Regions from separate parts of the Homo sapiens genome. Here region 1 is linked to region 2. Evidence: promoter capture Hi-C in 16 types of primary human blood cells and fetal thymus (Javierre and others, 2016). All regions are on one chromosome and are shown on one strand. The core of a region is centred on a gene start or on the middle of the fragment in contact, and the rest is flanking DNA. Distances in the headings are between cores, read along the strand shown. Region 1 holds the start of ACSM6 (acyl-CoA synthetase medium chain family member 6). Region 2 holds the start of CYP2C8 (cytochrome P450 family 2 subfamily C member 8).

The links. Contacts are between HindIII fragments. The CHiCAGO score rates a contact against its expected background, and 5 or more counts as called.
Region 1: a contact is called between the fragment with the promoter of ACSM6 here and the fragment with the promoter of CYP2C8 in region 2, in 7 of 17 cell types (total CD4 T cells, monocytes, non-activated CD4 T cells and 4 more). The highest score is 11.1, in total CD4 T cells.

Annotation. Positions count from the first base shown.
Region 1 is chr10:95,191,687-95,196,566 of GRCh38, forward strand. It overlaps ACSM6 (acyl-CoA synthetase medium chain family member 6), which reads left to right and starts at 2,552. Exons shown (of 11, transcript NM_207321.3): 1 at 2,552-2,617; 2 at 2,779-2,991. The coding sequence starts at 2,800. All of the region lies in intron 3 of LOC107984257 (a long non-coding RNA gene), which reads right to left. The HindIII fragment of the contact is 2,815 bases long and covers 1,752-4,566 here.
Region 2 is chr10:95,065,975-95,071,004 of GRCh38, forward strand. It overlaps CYP2C8 (cytochrome P450 family 2 subfamily C member 8), which reads right to left and starts at 3,523. Exons shown (of 9, transcript NM_000770.3): 1 at 3,261-3,523; 2 at 1,555-1,717; 3 at 1,234-1,383. The coding sequence starts at 3,428. RefSeq lists a promoter at 3,428-5,030. The HindIII fragment of the contact is 5,972 bases long and covers 1,482-5,030 here.

The DNA.
Region 1 (4,880 bases), core at 1,302-3,801, 120 kb after region 2:
TCAAGAAGGGCATATTCACCAGTGCCACTTCAGATATGGCCAAAGAGGATCACAAACAAGAAATGGCTTTCCAGAAGGCAAGCCAAATATCGAGATGACAGCAAAGGTGAGATTGCCTCCCAGAAAGCAGAATTAGTACTTGCCAAGTGAGCTGAGAACCCAAACACTGCCAGGATGTATGCTTTCACCATTCCTGCCCAGCAGGATTTGACAACTGGGTATTGCTGGGCCCAAGTCAGCTGGGTAATGCTCATTTTTCTCTTTCCAGTCTTGGAGTTTTCCATGCAATTTTATGGTTCCCACTTCAGACCTAAAGAGTGGGTTGTTTGGAGAGTAGAGATAACTTATGTTTTAGTTTCTAGTTTGCCATATGGCAGGGACCCCATCCCTGTTGGTTGAAGAGAACTGAGCAATACCCTCCATCTTGAATTTTGAGTTAGATGTAGCAATTCTGTGAGACTTAGAGGTTATGCTTCTTGGAGAATATTCTATAAATGGGAAAACTGTTCCATGTTGTGTTCATGGATAGTCAATGAATAGACTGTGATGGAAAATGCTAGTTGTCTCTCAGTATTCATGCCCACATCTCTCTCATGCATATGGAATCTCCAGTTCTTAGTTGAGCATATAGGCACTCAGAATAAAGATCACAGTTCCCAGACTCTTTCTGAAGCCACATAACTTAAGTCTGCGCCAATGGAATATGAGCAGAGGTAATGTGTAAAAATTTCTAGTTATTCACCTAGGCAAGGGGAATGTTCTTCCCCTCACCACTCTCCCGTCCCACTGGATGGAATATGGACGTGATGGCAAGTTGTTTCAGAAATGCCCTAAAGATGGTGGAGCAACGTTACAGAAAGAATCTGGGTCCCTGAAAGGGTGAAGATACTAAACCAGTGTGATGGATGATTTTAGGTGTCAACTTGACTGGATTCAGAGATACCTAGATATCTGGTAAAGTATTCATTTCTTGATGTGCCTGTGAGGGTGCTTCTGAAGGATATTGGTGTGTGAGTAGGTGGATTGAGTGGGAAAGATCCACCCTCAATGTGGTAGGCGCCATCTTATTGGCTGAGGGCCTAGATGCAATGAAAAGCTGAGAAAGGGAAAATTTCTCTCTCTTTCCGTGTGTGTGTGTGTGTGTGTGTGTGTCTATCTACCTCTCCCCCTCCTGGAACTGGAACACCCTTATTCTCCTGCCCTTGGATATCAGAACTTCAGGTTCTCAGCCCTTCAGCCTCAAATTGAGAGTTAGGCCATTGGCTTCCCTGGTTCTAAAGATTTCAAACTTGGACTAAGCCACACTACCAACTTCTCTTGTTCTTCAGCTTACACCATAGGACTTCTCAGCCTCCATAATCACATGAGCTAATTCCCCTAGTAAGTCCCTCTCACATATCTGTATCTATATTCATCTTTATTTCTCTATTTCCTATTGGTTCTGTTTTTCTGGAGAACCCTGACTAATACAAACAGCTTTTCACTGCATATGCTCAGACTGTCAATTGAAGAAACAAATTTACTATTTTGTGTCTTTGTTGAAGCAGCCAAACTTATATCTAACCAATGCACCACAATAAGGAGTTTATTCATCTTAAAGGCAGCGTGATGTTTTAGGCAGTACTTGGACTAGATAATTTATTGGAATATTTTAGTTCTAATATTAGATATAGTTACAATGTTAATATCATCAAATTGAAACCATTAAATCTCAGATTTCTGGAATGCGAATAAGTGAACCCATCATCCAAAGCTTACATTATTTTACTCCCTCTGGCGACTGGAAACATGGATAGGAATTGTGATGAAGAACTTCAACCACCAGTAACCAAGTTACACCTCACACAGTTATAAATAAAGTTAAAATCTTATCAAAACAATAAATCTTCAATATTTTATTAAACAAATATTGTGACCTCTTTTAAATATATGTTATACACACCCCCTTTCAAATTTTAGTTTTGCTAATTTGAGGCTCCAAGGTGGACCCTCCCACCGCCCCCCGCTGAGGATCATGAGATCTGGCTCCCTACCTGATTGTTGCAAGACTTTCACCTACACTACCTTGAGTACGAGACTTTCACCTACACTACCTCGAGAGGCAATCCCTAGAGGGCCTTCGATGTGCCTATTTATTTAAAAAAAAAAAAAAAAAAAAAAAAAAGGCCTGTCATCTCAGTGGGTTAAAGAGGCAGGGTGTGGTTACCTCACCTGGCTGATGAGCAACCCCCTTCTCCCTTTCTGCAGTGCAGGATTTTGTAAGCAACAAAATCTTATTTAAACTCTGTGTCCATCATCTTTTCACCACACTTGGCACAGTAGTCTGTGACCTATTTCTCCTGACATCATATCAGAAAGCAAGGCACACCTGTTGCTTCAACTTAGCTCACAGCCCATAGATTTTATCTCCCAGAAGCAAAAGAGATTGCCTTTTAGGCTTGAGAGCCAATGAAAGTGAGCCAGGACTTAGTTTGTGCTGGCACCAAGGAAATGCCTTTTTCCCCAGAGCCGGCAACTAAACTATAAGAGGTAAGCAGTTCTCAGAGGAGACAGAAGGCAACAGCTCTACCATCCTCCAAACATCTGAAGCCCCCCATAGAAACTCCTCTTGGAATTGGTAAGTATCTGTGCTCATGGGCTTCTTCTCCAATGATCTGACTGTTGCTTGTACTCATAAGGAAATTGTTTGCCTTATGGATTCATTCTCAGCACTACAATCTCAGTGATTATCCCTCTGAGCTGCTCAATTACTCCCTGTCTTTTCCTCAATTTACCTAGGTGGTTCCCTGTCTGACCCAAATGCTAGGCCGATTTCAACCCTTCTCCTTGGTCCGGAGTTTCAGACTGGGATTTGAAGCCTGCTGCTATCCAAACCAAAAATGTGCTACTCAGACCATCAGACCCCCTGACTCCAGGTGCCTAGTCCAAGCAGTTTCTCAGAACTTTAATTTTGCAAAGGATGTGTTGGATCAGTGGTCCCAGCTGGAAAAGGTAAAACTTGTTGTTTTCTACCTTGGAAACTTTGGCCAAGGCCAGTTGGTAAAGCGTCCAAAGATCATGAGATTCATATCCCATCTATGGCTGGCACTAGAAAGTGCAAATTCAGAGAAAAGAAATTATAGCAAAATGACTAAGAACATAGGCTTGACAGCCAGATGGTTCTACATTGAAATCCTGGCTCTGCTGCTAAATAACCATGCAAACTTGGACAAGTTATTTGCCTTCTAGGACCTTAGTTTTGTTATCAGTAAAATTGAGATATTAATGGTGTGTTTTTCACAGTGTTGTCGAGAAGATTAAATGAGACAATCAATAAAAAGTGTTTAGCACAGGACTCAACACCCTGAAAACACTCAATAAAAGTTAGCTTTTATTATCACTAGTAATATTATTGTCACATAGATATGATTCTAATTAACCAACATTTTTGAGCATCTTCTAGCACATACAAAATTTTAGAAGCCAAACACTAAAGGAACTTACTGCGTAGTGTTTTTCTTTAAAGCAAATGATAGCCACAAAGTGCTGAAAAAGAAGTGCCAAAGGAAATAAGTATAAGTATGCCTCTGGATAATGGAATTTAGAAAGATTTGATAAAGGAGGTGGTATTTACTGCATCCTGAAGAATGAGAAGAATTTCAACAAAAAGACAAGGGAAAGACTGTCTAGGCAGGAACAACCACATGAATAGAGACATCATGGAAAGAAGGAAGAGTATTCAGGAACAGTTTGGCTAGGTATAGGGTCAGAGGGAAGAGTATTGAGTTATGAGGAGAAAACAGGCAGGAAGCAGTCTAATTTTGAAAGGCCCTGCTGTGTGGAGTGGACTTGCTTACTCTCTGGCTAGGTAACTCTGGAGCAAGTCATTTTAACTCTCTGAGCCTCATTTCCTCCCTCTGTCAAGTGGGGCTGGTGGTGCCCGCAGGAGAATCCAGTGCGTGTGGAGAGTGAGCAGCGAGAGTTATTTGCATGTGTAATATCTGATTGCCCCTCTATTCTCCTCCCCTCCCCAGGCCCCTTCCTGGCCCTCCCCACCTTCATCACCCGCTTTGGGAGGAGTAAGGAAAGTGGACAAAACAGTAATTCATTGTCTTTGTGCAAAATATACTTACTGCCTTTGGTGCATCATCTAGGGTTAGATAAGAGGGAAGACTTCTGTTTAGGAGACTTAATTTTTACCCATTTGGGCCAAAGAACAAAAATTCTGTAGAGCAAGGATTGTGAAAGCTCCTTGAAAAGGTTTGAGGCATGTATCCTGAAGGACTTTGGGGTGCTTTCATCTTTGCTGAGCTGTGCCCCCTCTTGGGGTGCCCTCCCCACCCATTCTGCCTTCCCAGCCCAGCCTGTGCTGCTTTCTCTCTCCTCTGCTTTTCTTAGCTTGTGTTCTACCACCAGGCACTATGTGTGAGTCCTGGGTCCCAGTAAGATTCTAGGGCTAGCGTTGTGCCTTTTATCTCTTTGTGCCCGCATGGCATCTGGCACCATGCAGAGCCTTGTTCCTTTGCTCAGCTCTTGATTAAGCATATGGATTACAGACAAAGGCCCAGCTGGGCCCTACCCAGCAGAAGCTTCCAGGCTGGGAGGCAAGACAGATGAGCAGTGATTGGGTGCCAAGGAATTCAGAGGGCTGCAGCTGTGAGCAAAGGCTTGGGCTCCAAAAGCCACACAGTCAGCCCAACTAAACATTGGTTGTCTGAAGTCACTTGGGGCATCAATCACAGGTGCCCAAAACGTCAGTCAGCAGGAACTTTACAAATCATCTGCTCCAACCCTTTATCATTTAAGAGCACTTCATCATAGAATTGTTAGAAAATACTGGTAAACATGAAAAAATTTTAATATGGAATATTACCCAAAGATAACCACTGGTAATTTTCATA
Region 2 (5,030 bases), core at 2,273-4,772:
AATAAAGTTGGAACATTGAACAACAAGAAACCTGCTGAGTTAGCTGCTTCTATGCCAGACTCCTTTAAACATTACAGGGCTCTAAAGTTTCAGAAAAACTGTTGTTTTAGCCAAGGGGGTGAAAGGTAATTTGGGAAGCCTTGGTGAGAGAGAGAGAGAGAGAGAGAGAGAGAGAGAGAGTGTGTGTGTGTGTGTGTGTGTGTGTGTGTGTGTGTTTCTCAGGTACAATCTGATATCCAGGTTTTTTTTTTTTTACTGCATTTGGGAGAGTGAATTTAAAAAGGTAATTTTATATCCCAGCTGATAATCAGATTGATTATAACAAGCACTTCATAGGTGAGTAAATTGGCAGTGGGAGAAAAATGATTAGCACAAATTTCAAAGCTAAGAACCAATACAGGGGAAAAAAGATGACAAAACTGAAAACATAGCCAAATTACATTTAAAGAAGACAGGATAAAGAGTTTTTCATAATAGTTAAAATCTAGTTAAACAAATTATTTACAAATTAGTGTTTGTGTATTTGCTGAGTTATACTATAGATTATATTTACTTAAAATATATTAATTGCTACAGTAAGTAGTGGTTAACAAGAAATAATTAATCCTGACAGTTTTCAAATAGTACTGTGTTTCCCGAGAAATAAGAACTGATGAAAACTGTACTGAGATATACCTAAGCAAGTAAAACCATACATAGTGTCATTGCTGGCCAGAGCTGTAGGCATGGACCTGGAAGGAATTTCCAGACATGTGAGTATGACCATATGAAAAAACTCGAATTAAATGAAAGCACATATAACTTGGTTCATATTTCATGAAGTGTGATGAGGTCACTTTCACCATGTCCACTTTCCAAGTGTTCTCTGGTGAAATGTTCTGGTGGAGGTAATGCAGATTTATGCTATGGGGGAAACCTTCTTTAACTCTTCAAAAATGAACTCAAGACCCTTATTTATAATTTCTGATTTGAAAACAAGGAAACAAAATTGAGCAGAAAATAGGATTAAATGACCTTTTATTCCTACACCCTATGAACCAACACATTTATACAGGCAAAGCACAGATACACAAAACCTCCCTTGTCTCTGTGCTTCAAATCTCCCTCCACCACCTGAGGGCTGACAACCAGGATGCGCAATGAAGACCTGGCCACCCCTGAAATGTTTCCAAGGACGTCACTAGTGAAGACAGGTAACTGTTAAGGTCAATGACGCAGAGTAGAGTCACCCACCCTTGGTTTTTCTCAACTCCTCCACAAGGCAGTGAGCTTCCTCTTGAACACGGTCCTCAATGCTCCTCTTCCCCATCCCAAAATTCCGCAAGGTTGTGAGGGAGAAACGCCGGATCTCCTTCCATCTCTTTCCATTGCTGGAAATGATTCCTAATAAAAAAAGGGGCAGAAACTGGGAGAATTCACAGCCAAGGAAGAAAGTGCTGCAACACTTGGCAGCCATGCAGATAGGCTAAGCTCTGCTGAGAAGCTTTTTAGGGCTCTGTTTTCCATCCCCCTCACCCCAGTTACCAAAGCTGACACAGAAATATGTGCACCTACCAAGTCCTTTAGTAATTCTTTGAGATATTGGGGAATTGCCTCTTCCAGAAAACTCCTCTCCATTATCAATCAGGGCTTCCTTCACTGCCTCATATCCATGAAACACCACTATGGGATTCATGCCAAAATACACGGTGAACACAGGACCATAGACTTTTGAGAACTGGGAAAGGAAATGCAAATAGCAGCAAAATAAGTCGCTATTTGCTCCAAATACTATGTATGATTCAGACTGACATTTTCATTGTATTTTTTAATGTTCATATTTGCCACACATAGATTCGATATTTCTGAATTTTGTACATAAATGTGATGGTGATTGTTATAGCTGCCACTTATAGATGGCCTGTGATGTGCCACGCAATGACCCAGGCAATTGGTACACAAATCACACAGTTCATCCTCACTTCAACACATTCAGCACATTCATTTGACCTGTTTTAAAAATGAAGAAACTGAGGCCAGAGAATTGCAGATTCATTCTCAGAGTCCCACAGGTAATATGTAGAAGCTCCAAACTGGAATCTCTGCTAATTTAAACTGATGCTTGAGCAATTAATCAATCCCCCATGTCCACCTTGAGGCCACTACCCAGCTAAAGACTTCAGGGTCACTTGTAAAGCTCTTAACATGAGGATTCTGATACAGCAGTCCTGTGATGAACCCTAGAAATCTGTATTTACAGTGTCACCCCAGGTGATTCTAATGCCCAGTCCAGTTTGTAACTGCTGGTATTACCAATATGGAACGATGAAGCACCACAAAGTTAGAATCAGGACATTCAGCATCTCCTGGAAGAACAATTTCTTCCATTCTCCAGCAACCTTGGCCACAGACAGTGGCTTTCTTCAGAATCCAAAAGAATTCTGTTAACTACCTATTGGGCCCTGACTGATTACTTCTTTCTTTCATGCACTTATGTTTGCCCTGAACCCACAGATATTTATTTCACATCAGCCATCAAATGAATCTTCAGAGAAGTTCAATTTTCATGACCATTCTGAATAAAACACATGACTACTATAGTAGAGAACTTATTGGATGAAATTTCTAATCACACACACTTCCCTTCACCTTCAGTCAAAAATCATAGCAAAACACTGTGAAACAAAGAGGAGAAACAGCACTTTAAACTTTTGCCACTGTATTAAATGATTATATAATACAATGACCCCAATGTTTCTGTATTCACAAAATGCATCAACTCACTCCGCTATTTCTGACAATGACAGACTTAGAAAGACAAAAGAGGCCAGGTACGGTGGCTCACACATGTAATCCCAGCACTTTGGGAGGCCAAGGCAGGCAGATCATGAGGTCAGGAGACTGAGACCATTCTGGCTAACACGGTGAAACCCTGTCTCTACTAAAACATACAAAAAATTAGCCGGGCATGGTGGAGGGCACCTGTAGTCCCAGTTACTCGGGGGAGGCTGAGGCAGGAGAATGGTGTGAACCTGGGAGGCAGAGCTTGCAGTGAGTGGAGATAGTGCCACTGCACTCCAGCCTGGGCAATAGAGCGAGACTCCGTCTCAAAAAAAAAAAAAATAGGAAGACAAAAGAAACATCAAAGAAGTTCAGAGGGAGTATTTTGCTTTACAATGATCTATTATAATAGTGTGCTTCCAGGAATATATTTTGTCTAAAAATAGCAGTCAAATAACTTACCCTTTGCAATTGGCTGGAGGAACATAAGGCAGACTTACATTGGTGAAAGATTTGCAGATGTCCTTAACATCTATCTGTAGCATATTTCCAATAATAGGAAGAGGAGTGGGGCCAGGAGGGAGCTTCCTTCTCCTACAGCTCTGTCTCCAGAGTGAAAAGAGAAGCATAAAAGAGAGACACAGCACCAGGACCACAAAAGGTTCCATTGAAGCCTTCTCTTCTTATTAAGACAGCTGTGAGCTTGCACTCCAAAGTTTTTATAACACTCCCTGCTAATTTAGTGTGTGTCTCTTTGACATGTAAAGTAAACAATCACCTAGATCCAATTTATACTTTTTTTCTGAGTGGACTTTGGCCCATGGATAGAAATAAAATGTTCTTTTGTCCTACTCCTTCTTTCCAGTGCCAATCTAGGAGATTCTGGTTTAATTGTATTGGATTGGAGCCCAGGTATTTTTAATTAAAAGTCCCTGGTTGTTCCAATGTGCTGTGATGATGGAGAAACACTGAAGTAAATGATTCTATGTTAGAATATACTCAAAATTCAATATTCTCAGATTAATGACCAGTTGGGAATTTATGACCTTGAGGGAAATCAGTGTATTCTATATTTTGTGTATAAAAAATGTACATTGTAATGCTATATCAAAAAATAGGAGACTTAGCCCTTGATAACAAAAGCCTTTCAAATATTTAGTATAGTTCACTTAAAATACAGCTGCCTAAACATGAAATAGTGAATATAACTCATACATGTTGAATTACCATACATATATCAAATTATTAGCTAATAAATGTATATTTATATATATTTAAATGTATATAAACAATATACATAAATATATATGTTATTACATAATAATATTTGTGTTATTATTACATTATTATAATAATAGGTGATTATTTACTTTACATGTCAAAGAGACAAACTGAATTAGCAGGGAGTGTTACATACATTATTACATAATAATAACATAAATACATATTTATACTATTAAATATTATATTAAATATATAAAAGTATATATATAAATGTATATTCATCATTAAAAGAGACTGGAGTATAAAGATTATCATTTTTTATTTTTCAAATTGGGAAAGAAACTCTGGGAGAACAGGACACCTGTCAGTGCCACACAGCTCATTGCCGGTAAAACCGGGATTTGAGCAGAGATCTTCTGATACCCATTGGGGTTCATTACCACTTACACCACAGCTGGCTCAAGAACAATTTTAGAAAAACAAAACAAACCCCAGACATTAGTTACTCTGAAGATACGCCACCTTGACTCTGTTCAGAAAGCAACAGGCTTCACATTAAATAGAAGTCCGTTATTTGTTTATAAGGATAAGAGGACCGGAGACGCTCAAAAGAAGAAATAAAAATTAGAGTTCTCCCCTCTGCATCACCTCACAAGTGAAAGTTGTTCAGCACTATTAAGGAAAGGGCCAATCTCACATAATTTATGGCACAGGGCTTGAAAATCTATGGCTTCTCCACCTTCCAGTCACCTCCAGACATGGCTGCTTCTATTGTTTTTGGTCTGTTATTGTTACAAATAATAGAATGTAATCATACACAGCAAGGAAGAGAAATTATACACAGAACAACAGTTGTGGATTCAACAGAAGATGGAACACAGGGAAATCACTGAATGGACCCAGGGCACAGAACCACTGCAATGTGCAGACCTGAAATGGGAACTGATAGTCAATGGTCATGAAGATCTAAATACAACTGGATTTATGAACATTACTAGATCACTAATAACAAAGTGTGTATACAAAGGCATGCTCTGAAAAGATTA